2 separate regions of the Homo sapiens genome follow, and region 1 is linked to region 2. Evidence: promoter capture Hi-C in human tissues and cell types (Jung and others, 2019). All regions are on one chromosome and are shown on one strand. Each heading gives the region's core, a stretch centred on a gene start or on the middle of the fragment in contact. The rest is flanking DNA. Distances are from core to core; before and after follow the strand shown. Region 1 overlaps YPEL2 (yippee like 2). Region 2 holds the start of YPEL2 (yippee like 2).

Region 1 (3,361 bases), core at 369-2,868, 56 kb before region 2:
GTGGTTTTGCAGTTTTCACAGTAAATGTCTGCGACTGCATGCAGTCCTGTTAGCAACACTCGCTCTTCTGCAGGCCCACAGCCCACATTAACTCTATGTCGAGGCACAAGAAGAGAGAGTGGGTAGTTAGTGACACGCACATCAGGCATTCAAGCTGAGCTTCCAGCAAAAATTAACTGGGAAAGGCTGTCCCAAGGGGAGCCAACCCTGAGCTGAGCAGATCTAAACCAATCCCCAAAAGGTGGCCACAGGGAAATATCTCAGCTGGAAGGAAATTCAGATCTGCAAGTTCTAGTGGAGTGGGTCTACCGAAATAATCTTTATGGTTGAGAGTTTGCTTAAAATTTTAATTTTTCTAACAAATACTTTAAATCTGTGACTTAGGGGGACAAGCTGACAGCCACACTGTGAAGTCCACAGCCATGGGCACAGGTCCTCACAGCTTACTGAGGACTGAATGAAGCTGAAGATGCCACACATGATAGCACAGTGTGGTCCTGATACAGGAATGAGTGATCCCTGGGTGCTGAATAGGCTCTACTCCTTCACAGGGTGCCCAGCTCAAGCCACAGGCCAGATTTTCATTTTTACAGTTTATCAGGCTTATGTAGGCTTCACCTTCCCTTCCCAGGGAAGAGGTGATAAACCTGGTGCCTGGGGATGGCTGAGTGCCCTGGAAACTGTGCATCTGCCCGAAGTGGGCCTTCCTTCCTCCTTAGGTCCCGCAGCAGATCTTGGTGTCTTTTTCACCCATATTCTCTTCCCCAGTGACAAATCTCAGATCTCATTATGAGCCCTTCAGGTTGAGGCTCTCAGAATCTCCTCAGCTTCTTCCCTGTGGGACTACAGTCCTCTGGTGTGCCCTCTGAGGGGAATGTAGTGAATATATTATTTTTAGCCAGAGATGTTGGCAAGAAATGTTCCCCAAAGGTAACTGACTACCAATTGTGGACAGTAATGCTCCACAGAGTTTTACTGTGGCAGACAGGGCAGGGTTCATTGTTTAATTATCACCAAGGATTGCTTTTTCCCATCCCTCGAATCTGTACCCCACAAGGAATGTACCATTCAGAGGCACTCACACTGAGTTAAAGAGGTATGCTCGTCCTTGACTTCCTTGGAATGACTGAAATGCAAGAAAACAAATCGATAGTTAGACATCCATTTCACCTATCTGTTTGGGAAACCAACCCCAATCACAGTTAAGCATGACCTTCCAGGACTGACACAGCAAAAGGGAGTACTGAGCCAGTTAACGGTCCCGCTGGCAGATGGTGTGGGGGCGGAGAAGAGGGCGGAATTAACAGAGCCACAAAGCTCGATCTGGCCCACCGGACTGTTTTCACTAGCCCAGGTGAGAAAATGAAAAAAACCCAAAACCACTATGTCATTAAAAACTTCTTCCCTCCTGACATTGCCTGATGTAATTAATTCACCTGAGATCATTAATCCGCATTGGCGTTTCCTGGTCCCACCTGATTTCAGCCATCTGTGCTGGCCACAGCTTTCCCAGGCTGGCCCAGGCATGGAAACCACCACAAGCTCCTTCGCTTGGCCTCTTGGTCCAGCTCTACCAAAGGCAGCAAAAAAATCCCTGACCCAAGAAAAAACTATCCAACCCACACTTATCGCTTGTCATGCCTTCTAGAAGATCCTAAGTGCCATGACAGTTTACAATCCTAAATGGGAGCACAGGAGCTCTTTTGAGATGTAAGCAACTTGATCTCTGCATCACAGAAATGCTCATGAAGCAGCAATTCCACTTTAACCTCTAGCTTACATATTAGTTTCTTTCTTTTGGCTGGAGGGCGGCAGGGAACAGGAGAAACAGGAGCCAGAGCCTGCCATGCAATCTGGCGTCTGCTTCCATTAACACGGGCCCTGTCCATGTTTTCCTTCTCTGGTTACACTGAGAAGTCGGCCTGACATGAGCCAGCCATGTTCTGCACTGCCGCCTGCATTTTTAATGTGGTCTAACAACAGTGTCCTGAATTTAGTATCTTAGTCTGCTCTGAAAACCAACCAACAAACAAGGAGATGAGTGGCTAACAGATGACCAGAGGGTAGGTGAGCACCAGATAGGACTCAGATCAGCACGCGAGACAATCATTTTTGTCAGATGTGCAGGACGTCAGGGATCAGTGCTGCCAGCCAGTGTGAAAGACAAAATTCTTTTTTTTTTTTTTTTTTTTTTTAGATGGAGTCTTGCTCTGTCATCCAGACCAGAGTGCAGTTGCGCGATCTTGGCTCACTGCACCTCCATCTCCTGAGTTCAAGCGAGTGTCCTGCCTCCGCCTCCTGAGTAGCTGGGACCACAGGTGTGCACCACAACACCCGGCTAATTTTTGTATTTTTAGTAGAGACAGGGTTTCACCATGTTGGCCAGACTGGTCTTCAACTCCTGACCTTGGTGATCCACCCGCCTCGGCCTCCCAAAGTACTGGGATTACAGGTGTGAGCCACCACACCCAGCCAACAAACTTCTTTACTTGTGGAAAAACTGCCTCTGGGGCAGCTGGATTGTTGGTTGCCTCCAACATTCAAATACACCAGACACCTTCACTCCCAGGTGCATCTGCAAGGGGCAGGCAGATATTCCCCAGCTGGTGCCCAGACCCAAACCAATTCTCTCCTTTTTGGGGTCTTGAAACATCCCTGGGGAATATAGCAGCTTCCAGGCTACAACTGAGCAGCTATGAGTGTCAAAGCCTCAAAACCTGGAACCTGGAAGTCCATGCTGAGTGTTTGGATAAGACAATGTCCCAGCGACACAGGTCTAGACCTGGCCACACTGTTCAATCCTGGAGCACAAACACCACTCCAGGGCTTCATGACCTGGCCATGCCACCTCTCCTGCCTCTTCTCTTGCTACCTCCCCATTATGTCCTTCACTCCAGTCAGGCCAAACCACAGGCAATTCCTGGAAGTTGCATTGCACTAACTTTGCCCATGAAGTTCCCTCTGATGGGGAGGCTCTTCCACCTGACCCAATAAGCCTCAGCTCAGCTCCCCTCTTTCATTAAGCTTTCCCTAAACTCCCCAGAAAAAGGCACCCAATGATACTCATGTTCTAGACTCTTCATGTTCCCTGCATTTCCTTTTTCTTTCTTTCCTTTTTTTTTTCCCCCAAGAGAGTCCCACTCTGTCACCCAGGCTGGAGTGCAGTGGTGTGACCATGACTCACTGTAGCCTCCACCTTCTGGGCTCAAGCGATCCTCCTGCCTGAGCCTCCAGAGTAACTGGGACCACAGGTGCATACCACCATAACCAGCTATTTAAAAAAAAAAAAATTTATAGAGACAGGGTCTTGCCATGTTGCCCAGGCTGGTCTTGAACTCCTAGGCTTAAACAATCCGCCTGC
Region 2 (3,178 bases), core at 311-2,810:
GGAAAAGAACTTGCAGCCACTCAAAACACAGTTTAGAAGAATGAAAATGTTCCTCACCGGAGGCAAGACTCAGCCATTCATAGGCCCTGTGGCCCCCAGAGGCAGGAAAGCACGGGGGAGCAATAACCATGTGAAATCAAGTCCCACCCCAGAGCCAGTGAGGCGGTTTACTGAACTTCTTGCATCTTTAATGCTCTGTGAGGCACAGGGAAGCTGACCGCTACCCTTCTTGCCCAATGCTTTGGAACAAGGAAGAACAAGGAAGGAAGGGCAGGGAGGAAAAGACAGCTGTCTCGTTAGCCTTCAGATTCACCAAAGGCAAGGACTCACTCAAGAGCCTCCCAAGTTGCAAGGACAGCAAATCAGCAAGGAGGCCAGAAAGCAAAAACCCCAGCAAAGCTTCGGAGCAGTTCTCTGGGGCCTTTCACAGCGGCGGGACTGGGGGGCGGGCGAGGGTGCAGCTCCGCTCCAAGCGGAGGAAAACAAGACACTCGCTCACCTGGCTTTTTAAACTCTCGCAGCTAAGACTGAAGGCAGAGGTAGCAATCTTCCGGACAAGAAGTCCAGAAGAACAGGTGTCCCCCACCCCCGCACGCCCCCAAGACCGGAGAAAAGCCCACCACTCCGGGAAAGACACCAGAGGAGGTCGGCGGCCAAGCAGGGTGAACTGGAAGTGGCGAAAGGTCGGGGCCGCCCCTAAGCGCCAGCTCCGGGGAGGCGCTCGCGGCAGAGGCTCCCGCGTTCCGTCGGGCAGGACCTCGCGCCCACCCCCTTGGCAAGGACACCGGGGAGGCGCCGAGACGCGGCCAGGGAGGAACTCGGCTGCGGTTACCTCGACCCGGGTCGGGGCAGACGACGCGCTCCGAGAAATTTCGAGGGCGCCCAGTCCCACAGTGGAAGGCCCCCAGGGCGGCGCCCCTGGACCTAAGTGTCCCCAGGACTCTCCGAGGGAAACGCGGCGTCACGAGAGGACGGAGGGCGTCCCCAGCCCCACCCGGACCCCATGGAGTCCGAACCCATGGGGACGACGCGGAGGAGGAAGCGGCGATTCCAGCTCCGCACCCCCGCCCCAAACCTGGCCCCGCAGACTCGCCCAGCCCCTGGCGCGCGTCTCCCGCCCCGGCCGGGGGTCCCGCGCCCTTGGGCTCCCTCCGCGAGCGGCCGCGGGCCCGGCAGTGTTTGTAAACAAACCGGTCACGTGGCCCGGCGGCCGCTCCCCGTCCCCGGCGCCCACGGGGACCCCACGCGGAACCGAGGGCGCCGCACCCCCAACCCCGCGCAGGCCCGGCCGGGGGAGTCCGGAGGCCGGGGCCGGGGACCCAGAGCCCGAGCTGACAGCGCGCCCCACGCCCACGCGCGCCCGGCCCGCGCCGCACTCCGGTGCACTTACCCGGCGACAGGCGGCCCTGTCCGGCCAGCGTGGGGCTTGGCTCCGCTGGGGTGCGCAGCGGCGAAGCGCGGCCCGGCTGGGGCTCGGGCTCCCGGCACGCTCTTAAAGCCACAGTCTCCGCCACCGCCGCGGCCGCCACTCCGCATCCCTCCGGGTCCGGGCCGGGGGCTACCCCGTGATGGACGCGCCCCCGCACCTATCCCCTCGGCTCAGCACATAGCAACACGCCGCGGGTTGGCCGGGCGCAGCCGCAGCCCATCCGCGCAGAGCCAATCATCAGAGGACGGAACTCCGCCCCCCGCTTCCCCGACCGCCCACTCCCCCACCCCTCGGCCCGGCCCAGCCTGGGCTAGGGGAGAGCGGCTGGTTAGGGTCCCGCCCGTCCCGGCAACTTGCCGGAGGGCAGGGACCCAGAGTGCCAAAGCTGGGTGGGCTCTCAGCGCCTAGGAGGAGGCCGTTTATTTGAGTTTGGGGTTTGTCCCCAGGGCAGGGCTGGGATTCCCAGAACCTGGGTTGTATTTTGGGGCGGGGGGATTTGCAGTGCATCTCCCTGGAGGCTCAAGATAGTCATTCCTTTCTTACGTTTTAAACCTCGCCCTAAGCCATAGCCTAAGTTACCAGAAGTGGCCCTCAGGCCCCGGGTAATTGAATTTAAAATGATAGGGGGGAGGGGGGAGGGATAGCATTAGGAGATACACCTAATGCTAAATGACGAGTTAATGGGTGCAGCACACCAACATGGCACATGTATACATATGTAACAAACCTGCACATTGTGCACATGTACCCTAAAACTTAAAGTATAATAATAATAAAATTAAAAGAAAATGATAGTGCTAGTTGCACCCAGCCCACCCATGCCTTGCTCAGAAGCCAGGCATTTCCCCTCTTCTCTCTGCCCTGCTAGTAATTTCGGCGAATTAAAAGTACGAAAGGGGCTTAGTGGAATTGAAGACCGCCCCATTGCTGCTAATTTTCCATGACTTTCAGAGGCAGATGACGGTAATTAGAGTGGGATGGTCCGAGTGACCAGAGGGGAGGAGTCCACGTTCTGGGTCACCGGGGTGGTGCTTTTCAAGGAAGAGCAGGTTAAAAAATAACCTCGTGGCAGTCAGGAAACCAGGGAGGCACCAGGTGGGTGGAGTGGGGCAGTTTCCCAGCAGGAAAACAGGACAGTTTGATAAAGAATGTTGGCACGGACAAGGTGAACAAAGCAGGTCCTGCCTTTCGCTCAAGACACTGGGGTTCCGCAGTTCCTCTGGGAACTCTTCCTCCAAGGAAACTAGTGTTTTACTGTGCAGCCATCAGGATGTGAGGTGCTGCAGGAGGTGCAGCTGACTCTCCGCCTTCCACACACTGGTTTGCACGTACACCCAGAATGCTGGCTCACCTGCATCTCCACCCAGCTGTTTTTAAAATATGCTTGGTCAACCAAATTGTATTCAGTTAATATCTATTGCATGTGAATCCAGTCACCAAGGTTAGTAAAAACAACAAAACACCCCAAATACCTCAGTATTGTGGGGCTGACATATCAGCCTCAGATTTGCAGTTTCAGTGTAAACAAAGGCTATGTCCTGGTTCACAACTGACTAGTTTGGAGAGTCTAAAACGGGGGGGGGGGGGGAATGCTTTCAGATGAGAGGAATCACAAACAAGAACTGTTTAGCATTTAATCCTTAATCTAAGATGTGATGGATTCTTTAGATTAGTAAGAGCTTGCCGTCTCGCCCTGATCTGCTTCTTGAGCAAGTTTCTTTGTCTCTCCAGGCCTAGGTTTCCACAGTT

The links. The method cuts DNA at HindIII sites, captures the fragments that hold promoters and counts their contacts. A contact is called where the count stands out against the background at its distance.
Region 1: a fragment that was not itself captured here is called in contact with the fragment with the promoter of YPEL2 in region 2 in 2 of the 25 tissues and cell types used here (lymphoblastoid cells and spleen).

What each region holds. Positions count from the first base shown.
Region 1 is chr17:59,386,092-59,389,452 of GRCh38, reverse strand. It overlaps YPEL2 (yippee like 2), which reads right to left. Exons shown (of 5, transcript NM_001005404.4): 3 at 1,083-1,126; 4 at 1-93. Among named protein-coding and RNA genes, the nearest start is that of MIR4729, 22 kb to the right of the region's middle. The HindIII fragment of the contact is 8,502 bases long and covers 1-3,361 here.
Region 2 is chr17:59,330,037-59,333,214 of GRCh38, reverse strand. It overlaps YPEL2 (yippee like 2), which reads right to left and starts at 1,560. Exons shown (of 5, transcript NM_001005404.4): 1 at 1,391-1,560. RefSeq lists an enhancer at 503-1,064 and a silencer at 1,275-1,794. The HindIII fragment of the contact is 13,001 bases long and covers 96-3,178 here.